Linked DNA regions of Homo sapiens: region 2 is linked to region 1. Evidence: promoter capture Hi-C in 16 types of primary human blood cells and fetal thymus (Javierre and others, 2016). All regions are on one chromosome and are shown on one strand. Each heading gives the region's core, a stretch centred on a gene start or on the middle of the fragment in contact. The rest is flanking DNA. Distances are from core to core; before and after follow the strand shown. Region 1 holds the start of FAR1 (fatty acyl-CoA reductase 1). Region 2 overlaps SPON1 (spondin 1).

The links. The method cuts DNA at HindIII sites, captures the fragments that hold promoters and counts their contacts. A CHiCAGO score of 5 or more calls a contact.
Region 2: a fragment that was not itself captured here is called in contact with the fragment with the promoter of FAR1 in region 1 in 1 of 17 cell types (naive CD4 T cells); the score reaches 5.1 in naive CD4 T cells.

Annotation. Positions count from the first base shown.
Region 1 is chr11:13,666,420-13,671,134 of GRCh38, forward strand. It overlaps FAR1 (fatty acyl-CoA reductase 1), which reads left to right and starts at 2,249. Exons shown (of 12, transcript NM_032228.6): 1 at 2,249-2,387. RefSeq lists silencers at 1,799-2,288, 2,399-2,678 and an enhancer at 2,759-2,808. The HindIII fragment of the contact is 7,046 bases long and covers 1-4,357 here.
Region 2 is chr11:14,258,574-14,263,783 of GRCh38, forward strand. SPON1 (spondin 1) reads left to right here. Exons shown (of 16, transcript NM_006108.4): 12 at 707-877; 13 at 961-1,128; 14 at 2,015-2,179; 15 at 4,139-4,402. Among named protein-coding and RNA genes, the nearest start is that of RRAS2, 98 kb to the right of the region's middle. RefSeq lists enhancers at 319-843, 844-1,367. The HindIII fragment of the contact is 7,755 bases long and covers 69-5,210 here.

The DNA of each region.
Region 1 (4,715 bases), core at 999-3,498:
GATTTATTAATTCTCTGAATTCATTTAAGAATGATAGTATATTATGGAAGATTCGAGTCATACAACATGCCTTACCCATGAAATTGTACCATCTTGGAGAGTGATCCATTGTTTTTTAAAGTCTTCCTCCAGAAAGCACTCTGTCCATTTGTGGGGGTCTGCCGGAGGCACACATTTCATACACATTGACTTGAATCAAATGAGATCCCTTTGTGCTCTCAAGTGTACGGCTATTTTTGAGAATCATTTATTAAGTGATTACTTAATAATTACATCATATTTTCCTCAGAACTAAGCATTACTTTGCTTTTGTACTTATATCAATTTTTAAAATTAAGACATATGCACAAACAACAAAAAGTTTATGAAGTATTTTCTGGAAATAGTGTCTATTTCCTATAGTGATATTACCCTATCAGTATACTGATAAACCTTAGCAGTGGTTAACTTAGCTACACATGTTCTAACATGCTCCTGAATCCCCCATGCTGGGTTACATCCTCTTTCTAGGTATTCCCTCATCCTGTATTACACTGGCATTGTTTATGTCTGTCTCTCCATTAAACCCTATGTTCTGTGGAATACTGTCATATCCAAGTTTATATGCCTAGTGTAGTGACAAGCACTTTAAATAAAGGCATTTACCTGATTTAAACAACTTAATGACTAAATTAATAAATATGAATACTGTAATCTTTGTTTTGTTGCTTGTGTTCTTTTACAGATTAGAATTTGGTCCATAGTTCTTACGTTTGTTTTGGGAGAATATTTTGACCCACTTCTAAGAAGTGTTTCACCTGATCCTGGCTATTTATGACTATGGCTATTGGACTGGATGGGTTCCAGGCATACACTGTCTTGCCTAAAGTAGCGGAATGCGACATCCCTGAGGGTAAGCAAGTGTGTTAGCTTTGTGTTCTGTGCCCTCCTCCAGAAATGACAGTACTTGCTGCAAGACTGTGAGCTCATCGAGGCAGAAGCCATGGCATTCAAATTAGTTTCCTGAGCCAGAACTTAACATCTGCCACAAAGTAGGCAGTTCAGTGAGCTTTTGTAGTTTCCAACTGGATGCAGCACTATGACTGCTTTTAGCTACTAACAGGGCCAGGCACTGAAACAAGCTCTAAATCCCCACAGAAAAATCACTCTGAGCCATCCATCCCTAAATACCAACCTGTGCATGCTATTCACCGTGCCAAGAGCGTTCACTCATTTTTGCTTCTCACAAATCTTTTTTTTTCTTCCTATGGCTTGCATGTTTTGAATGACAGCTAAATCCTAATGCGGACTGTTTATACAATGGAGTCCCACGGAGCCCAAAGATTGTGGTAATATTATTACAGAATTCTCATGATCCTTTTATTATTTTTTAAAAATGAGCCGTATGAATGTGGTAATACTATTAAGTGTCCGGCTCGATGAATTCCTCCATGTGTACACAGCCCGGAACGACCACCAGGATCAAGACGCAATGTTTCCAGCTTTCCATAGGTTCCCTCGTGCCCCACCCCTCAGAAGTAAACGTTATTCTAACTCCTATCACTACCGGTAAGTTTTGTAGGGAATTATTTTGGAGGAAGTGGAAGGTGGAATGAATGGGCCCACAGTCCCCTGGGACTGGGCGAGACCCGTGGAGGCTCCAGGGGTCCGTAGAGCTCTTCGCTCTCACCGACCCGGGCCACACCCGCCAAGCTGGTAGTTCTCCGAACGGATCCCTCACGCCCAGCAATGGCCGGAGGGCCCCCGGGCCCCACCATAATAGCGCTAAGCACGCCACAATGGCAGCCCCGCTGTCTCCCGCGCGGGCCTCGCTGCGTGCTCCCAACCTTGGGAGTTGGCGCCCCTCCCGCGCGACGGACAGCCGGGCGTGGCCCTGGGCGCGACCCGACAGGACGCCAGCAGCCGGCGGGGGCGCTCCAGGACTCGAGATGTGGGGCGCGGGCCCATTGGCTGAGCATTCCCCCGCGAGCCTCCCGGCCGCAGGGCCCACCTCCCGGCCCTCTCTCCGCGCCCCCATTGGCCGTTCGCGTTCCGCGGGCGTCCGCTCCCGCCCCACTCCCGCCCGGAGGGAAACCGGGTTGGGGGTGAGAGGCTAAAGCAGGGAGGAGGATGACTGGTCCTGCGGATAAGGGTGTGCGCGAGAGCCAATCAAAAGCGGATGTCGAAAAGAGGCGCCGCTCCAGCCAGTCACGTCGCGAGGTGCGGTCGGGGCCGGCTGACGCGACTGCGGGCCTCAGCCAATGGGCGTGCCACTGCCCGTCCGCTCTTCAGCAGCCGGTCGCGGGCGGTGGAAAAGCGAGTGAAGAGAGCGCGACGGCGGCGGCGGCGGCGGCGCAGCTATTGCTGGACGGCCAGTGGGAGAGCGAGGCCTGAGCCTCTGCGTCTAGGTGAGAAGGGGGTGCGCCAGCGGGAGCGGCCGGGCTGCGGGCTCCTCCTCGCCTGGCTCGGGAAGTGGTTGCGGGAGCTCGGGCTGCAGGCCTGGCCGAGGCGGGGGCGCCGACCAGCCGTCCCGCCCCCGCCCCCGCCCGGGTACGCCCAGAAGTGAGGGCGCCCGCCTCACCCCGGGTGGTCTCTGCCCCTCTTTGCCCCGCCGCCGCCCTTCACAGGGCCGGGACCGCGTGGGGGACGTACGGTGGGGCCTGGTTTGCAGCCGCGGAGCCCGGGGAGCCGCCTGGGGTGGGAGGCCGCTAGAGGTGGCGAAGGTGGGGCGGGGTGGTTAGCCGAGCAGCGGGCTCCGCGTGCTCGCGGGAGGGTAGCGGCAAAGGGAGGCCTAGTGATTGCAGGATTCCGGGTCTGGGGAGGAAGAAAGTGGTGGGAAATAGGTGATGCTCAGAAAAGGGTGCTGAGGGAGAAGGCGCGGGGCCGGGGAGTGTGGTTGGCCTATTAGAAGTAAGGATTGATAGGGCCTGGGTGGAGATCAGCTGGGAGTGAAGGGGGGACGGGCTTGGGTTTTGAAGGTGAAGGTCTCTGGAGAACTGGGGACACGTGGATCTGGAGTAAGAGGCACCTACTGAAACCGGAAGGTGGCTGAGAAGGTTTTATGTGAGGTGTGGACGGGAGGCTATTGGACTAGAAGGCATTAGTTGGTCTGTTAGGACAAAGTATACAAGCAGCAAACGCGGTAGATTTATGTGTGGTAGGTGAAGGCTGTGAATCTTTTATGAGTAGTTGAGCAAGAACAGTTGTCTGATTCTGCGGTGTCGGAGAGTGGAGGGTCTCAGGTAGTGTCTTGGTCAGGTTTGAAGGTTAATTTACTGCTAGTGGAGGGCCAAATACTCAAAAGAGTTTTTAATTCTCACTACTGGGGCTGATCCTCCTCCTACACTCCACCCCTCCTGCCATCCCTGTGACAGTTCATCTCGTTTTGCCTCAGCAGCACAAGAACTCACTCCCTCCGAAGTAATGGCATACATATTGTTTGCTTTTGACTAGATGGCAGTCAGGAATCCCTTAATTCTTTATGTTAAAAAAAAAAGTGTTGGTTTAAAGACAACATCAGAAGATACTCTCAGAAAATCTGCCCTCCAGGGGAGTTTCTCAGCTGTCATGTTGGGCATGTGTAATATAGCATAAAAATGATGCAAGATCTCTTACAGTAATACAAGTGAGAATTAACGTATAAGTACAATCCTGATGTATTTTTTTCAAATTAATTTAAAAAGTAAACAGAGACAGGGTTTGCTGTCGCCCAGGCTGGAGTGCAGTGGCGAGATCATAGCTCGTTCCAGCCTCAAACTCCTCGGCCCAAGAGATCTTTCCACCGTGGCCTCTCAAAGGCTTGGGATTACAGGGGTGAGCCACCCCACCCAGGCCCTGTTATTCCATACATTTTCCATAAAATTATTTTATAATTTTTGTTTTGTTTTGTTTTTATTTTATAAATTTGTGTGTGTGTGTCTCGCTTTGTTGCCCAGGCTGGAGTGCAGTGACGCGATCTTGGCTCGCTGCAACCTCCACCTCCCAGGTTCAAGTGATCAGCTCTTGCCTCAGCCTCTCGAGTAGTTGGGACTACAGAGACATGCCCCACCGCACCGGCTAATTTTTGTATTTTTAGTAGAGGCGGGGTTTCACCATATTGGCCAGGCTGGTCTCGAACCCCTGACTTCAAGAGATCCATCCGCCTCGGCCTCCCAAAGTGCTGGGATTACAGGCGTTAGCTGCCGCGCCGGCCAAAATTATTCCATAAATTTATCCATAAAAATTCCACATAAATTTTCTGGAGTTTGATTATGTATTAGGCTTGTTGGGAAATTTATTACCCTTGTGAAGAATTTTGTAGCTAAGTAGCTTGAGGGTTTTTTTTTTTTTTTCACTCAGGAAAGACATGGTATGTATGCATCACTGCTATTCTATTTGAAGCTTTTGGAATTTTTATTTATGGGGTGTGGATAGAGGCTGGAGGCAGAGACTGAGGTCAGAGAAGAGGTAGTAGAAAAGAAGGTGGCCCACTACCATATTTCCAGTGTATTTAAATGGGAGATAGAGTTTCTGTTTGAGGATAGGACAAAAGGTTTGTGAAGAGTTATAGAGTCAAGGACAGAAGCCAAAGAGAGCATTTGCTGTGTAACATGTTTGCTTGTTAACCAGATCAGCAAAGCATTTTAACTAATGGACCATTATTTATGATCTAGAAACAATTTTGTGAAAGCGATTTCTTAGTGATGCTGTTTACTGTGATCACATTTGCCCTTAGTATAACAATACCTAAGTGCTGA
Region 2 (5,210 bases), core at 2,696-5,195, 590 kb after region 1:
CACTGTATAGGCTGGACTGGTGTATGGCAGGGAAAAAAACCACTTCCAAGCCGAGGATAAAGAAAGCAAGCTTATCCCATGCAGGTCATTAATTCCTTGGCTCTGCCTAGAGGGAGGCTCTTAAACACCTCTCCCAGTGTTGCACTTTCACGATGGTTTATTGCTAGCTCATTTTGCCCACAATAAGCACTTTGGAGGGGAGTAAACCCTCCCCGTAGACTAAGTCATTCCTACAAACAGGCGGGAGGAAAGCTGGGACTGGCCTGTCAACATTGAAGCCTCTTTCTTGGGGCTGGGACTGGGGAGCTAAGCTGAGGAGCTGAGGTCCTTAACCTCCCCTTCCACAGGGAAGGATTGTTCCTCATACAAATGGATTATGATTTATCTTAAATTATATGTAGATTAAATTATATCTTATCTTAGATATATGCGTGTACATTTTTTAAACACCATCCTTTCCATACAAGCATCTTTCGAATGTATTTTCATGAGATAAAGAGTAATTCTGAGTGTCCCATGCACCTGGAAAAGAGGCATTTCCTCTTAGAGAACTTTGCCAGTTTAAGGATTTAGACCTCTTAGGTGTGCAGACAACCTCAACTGCCTGACTCCTCTTGATTCCCGCTGGCGGGAAGTTCCCACCGCGCAGCCTGGCAGGCGCCCCTGCCACCGTGCACTGCTGCAGCGTTCACTCGGTGTGTTGCAGACGGCTCCACCTGCACCATGTCCGAGTGGATCACCTGGTCGCCCTGCAGCATCTCCTGCGGCATGGGCATGAGGTCCCGGGAGAGGTATGTGAAGCAGTTCCCGGAGGACGGCTCCGTGTGCACGCTGCCCACTGAGGAAACGGAGAAGTGCACGGTCAACGAGGAGTGCTGTGAGTGGGGGCCCCGGGCGGGCAGGCGGGCAAGTAGGTCGGGGAGGCAGCAGGTGCGACTCCAATGCCGCTGGCCTCCCCAGCTCCCAGCAGCTGCCTGATGACCGAGTGGGGCGAGTGGGACGAGTGCAGCGCCACCTGCGGCATGGGCATGAAGAAGCGGCACCGCATGATCAAGATGAACCCCGCAGATGGCTCCATGTGCAAAGCCGAGACATCACAGGCAGAGAAGTGCATGATGCCAGAGTGCCGTGAGTGAGAGCGGGGGTGGACTTGGAGGAGGCCACTGGGGACAGGCGTGGAGGGCCATGGCATCCACTATTACCACCATAAAGGTCGGAGGCTGAGCAGAGGAAAGCATGGCCCATGGTCCTTGCTGGGCACTGCTGGGAGCCAGATGAGAGACATAGGTGTGTAGACATCAACCAGACCCAGAGAGAGTAACCTCCACTGGGGGACATTCTAAGCAATGCTGGGGTGGCAAACTGGTGGCCTCTGGATAGAGAATTCACCTGCAGCTGTGTTTTATAGGAGTGTCTTTCTTGCAGTGGTGGGGAGGAGGGCCAATACATTTAGGCGGGACATACATTACCCAGGTCCAGCCCACTCCTCCCACTCCTGTTGTACATTGGACTTGGCTGATCCCATAAAGCATGACCTCCCCTGCTCTGTGCACAAATGCATATGGGCCTGCCCACACATTAGTATGCAGATGTATACAGGCACACAAGTATATACACATTCTAGGGAATTCAGGACAATGTCCAAAAATGCATCCCTGAGCCTCTCCTTTAGTGCCTGATTCTTAGTGAGTGTGGGATGTTTCTGTCTCTAGGAAGACCCTGCTAAGATCCTCAGTGGCCTTTCTAGTGGGGACTTATGTAGTCATATTGCTACCCTCATGTCATAACCATCGGGGGGGGTCAGCAGGGAGATGAAAGAGAGTGAAAAGAAGAGCAGTAGGCTGCTGAGCCACTTCTTGCTCCATAGATTTCACTCTTATTTGAACCCATGGGCCAATTCCACTTTATTCCAGGGGCCAAAGCAGGGGACTCGGTGTGGAACACTGTGGGGTCAGGGAGATCAACGAAAACAAAAGGAACCTGTTCTCAGTGGCAAACCTGGTTCTTGATCTAGACACCATCCCATGCTTGCTGTCCCCATGGTCCGAGTGGAGTGACTGCAGCGTGACCTGCGGGAAGGGCATGCGAACCCGACAGCGGATGCTCAAGTCTCTGGCAGAACTTGGAGACTGCAATGAGGATCTGGAGCAGGTGGAGAAGTGCATGCTCCCTGAATGCCGTAAGTCCTGGAGCTCCTCAAGGCCCATCACTTCTATGTTCCTGAGTCCAGGGAGCCCCGAACCAGCCAGTGCTAATACTGCTAGATCCTAGAATAACATGGTTTGCTGGGGAAGAGTTTGGGGTTTGGCTTTCAGTGTTTGCAGTTACTTAAACACTGCAGTCAGTTTCATTAATAAAGTGAGAATCCCACTACCGTCTACAGAACACCCAAAGTTAAGGTTCCTGTGAAGTCTAAATGACAGACACATACGAAAAACAGCACAAAGCTCAATAAACCTTAGTTCTTTCCCTCCTCTCCCCCAACAATTATAGGCTTGCCTGACCCATGGATTTTCCAAGCATTTTAATTCTATTTTCCCTGTGACCATTTTAATTCCCCATGACCAGAGGCTGGACATTAAATCAATGACTCCTGCAGACTGGTAAGAAAACCAGCAAGAAAACAAGCCAAGTTCTCAAAAACTCACCCCACCCCGCTCCACTCCCAGTCCTGTTTTCCAAAGTCTCTGCGATCAGCTGTTTATATTACATGGGACTAATCTCCAAGCAGAGCAAGCCAGTTTCCTTGGCTGGTCTTCCAAGAGCTGCTTTTTTGGGTGGTAAAAGGGCAGGCACACTGGCTGTGGCTCTGGCCCCCTCCAGCATGTACTTGCAGTCGTTCATCCTCCCTCCCCTAGCTAGTAACCTTCAGCCGATGACTCAGCACCTCTGTTCCTCAGTTTCTCCATCTGTAAAATAGCAGGAAATACTTCCTAGGTTGCTCTGAGGATGAAACCAAGTAATTGGTCCAAAGTATGAGCACTGGACATGGCAAGGATAGGCCTTACTTAATCCCTGCTCCATGCTCCAGCTCCTGGGTTGTTTTAGGAGACTCAGCCATGGGTGGAGGTAACTTGGACCACCCACTAGAGAAAGCCTGGGGTTTTCAGTAACTAAGATTGGCCCATGGTTCAGGCCAGCTCACCAGAGTTGGGGCCCCATAGCCTTCTGACTTAGAGTGCCTGGGGTCCACTGAAGTAAGGGAGAAGAAAATGAAAATTTATGGAGCACTTACAGGGCTGGGAGCATCTCATTTAATCCTTACAACCTAATGAAAAAAAAAATACCATGATCCCCATTTTGCAGATAAGAAAGCTGCCTGAGCTTCCACAGGCGGGATAAAAGAACTGAAACTGTTGAACTAAATGAGGACATCTAAGTCCACCACCCTGACTTTGGCCTTGCAAGACCAACAGAGAGCTTGGAATAATTTACCTCCCTGGGACACATCCTGACAGTCAAACTGATGTGTTATTTTCCTTTCACATTTATGAGATGCTGGCTTAGTAAGAATTTACTGGATCTCGATAAACCATAAAGCACCACTTGCTCCTGACCCTCTTCTCTACTGAATGTCCCATTTCTGGCTCCTGTGTTTTTTGCATAGACCACCATATATAGAACACAGGATGATGTTGAGAATGAAAAGCTGCCAGGGTGTGTTAGAACCACAATGTCCTTGGTATTGGTCCACAAGGGTCAGCCGCCTTTAGCTTGTTGACTTGTTCTCTCCAAAGAGCAGCAGGGGGCTTGCTGGCCTTGCTCTGAAAAATATCACCAGTGAGTTTGGGACTGTGGGAAGCTATTCTGTACTTGAGGCTGATCTGACAATATTCTAGTTCACAGAGCAGGGCAAGAGGCTCTGAACACATCCTGAAAGTCCTCCAAAGCCTTCTTGAGTCATAGAGGGAGCATAGAATGGGTGATGACCTGGCACCAATCCTGCCTCTGCTGCTTACCAACCACACGGGCTGAAGTCAGCCTGCCTCTTTGGAGCCTCAGTTTCTTCTTCTGTAAAATAGCATGACACAGCACCTGCTTTGCATCCCTCATAGGCTTGTTGAGATGTTCAAAGGAGAGCGTGACCATATCTTGTTTCAGACATGTGATACACTCATGCCCATCTGTGTCTTGCCAGCCATTGACTGTGAGCTCACCGAGTGGTCCCAGTGGTCGGAATGTAACAAGTCATGTGGGAAAGGCCACGTGATTCGAACCCGGATGATCCAAATGGAGCCTCAGTTTGGAGGTGCACCCTGCCCAGAGACTGTGCAGCGAAAAAAGTGCCGCATCCGAAAATGCCTTCGAAATCCATCCATCCAAAAGCTACGCTGGAGGGAGGCCCGAGAGAGCCGGCGGAGTGAGCAGCTGAAGGAAGAGTCTGAAGGGGAGCAGTTCCCAGGTATGGCTCCCAAGTGTCAGCCTGGGTGGTCTCCAGGACAGGCAGGGTTCTGCACTGGGCTAAGTCTTGGACCTGTTTAAAAAAAAAAAAAAAAAAAAAGTCGGGGAGAGTCTGCATCTTCTGGAGTCTTCAGGCCACATTTTGATTCTTTAGATCCAAGTTTGTTCCCAAATATTGAGCAAGCATAATTTATAAAGGAGATTGGCGGTGGGGGTCATTTATCAAAGAACATTTAGATAACCTAATTACCTGCCAAAAATAAATTTTCAAGCAAAGAATCTTTAGGAATTACAGTTCCTTCTTTACACACATATAAAACCAATAATGTGTCCAACTTTGCTCAAAGTCAGTTATGACTTAGCAACACCATTCACTCCTTGCAAAGAGGGAAAATGATACAGATGTGTCAAAGGAGTCTTGTCTTGTTCATCATTTAGGGAATGTTCCTGAGAACCTCCCAGAACACATCATCTTCCATTTTAAGGGTGTGGCTCAGACAAGGCAGCCGTGGCCTGAGACTTTATGATTTTTTTTTGCAAGGCTAACCAGAAGTTTATCAGCAGTGTCATGTCAGCCTTGAGTTTTATTTCCCCAAATAATATTGATCCAAGCTGACAAATAACTAATAGAACAATGCACCAAGTGCTCAGGGAGCTGAGGAATGAGCATCATCTTACATTGACTGGAGTTCAGGGAGATGTCAGAGCAGGGAAAACTAGAGTGGGTCTTGAAAAATCTAGAGGAGTTTGCCACTTAGAAAAGTACATTCCAGGCCGGGCACGGTGGCTCATGCCTGTAATCCCAGCAC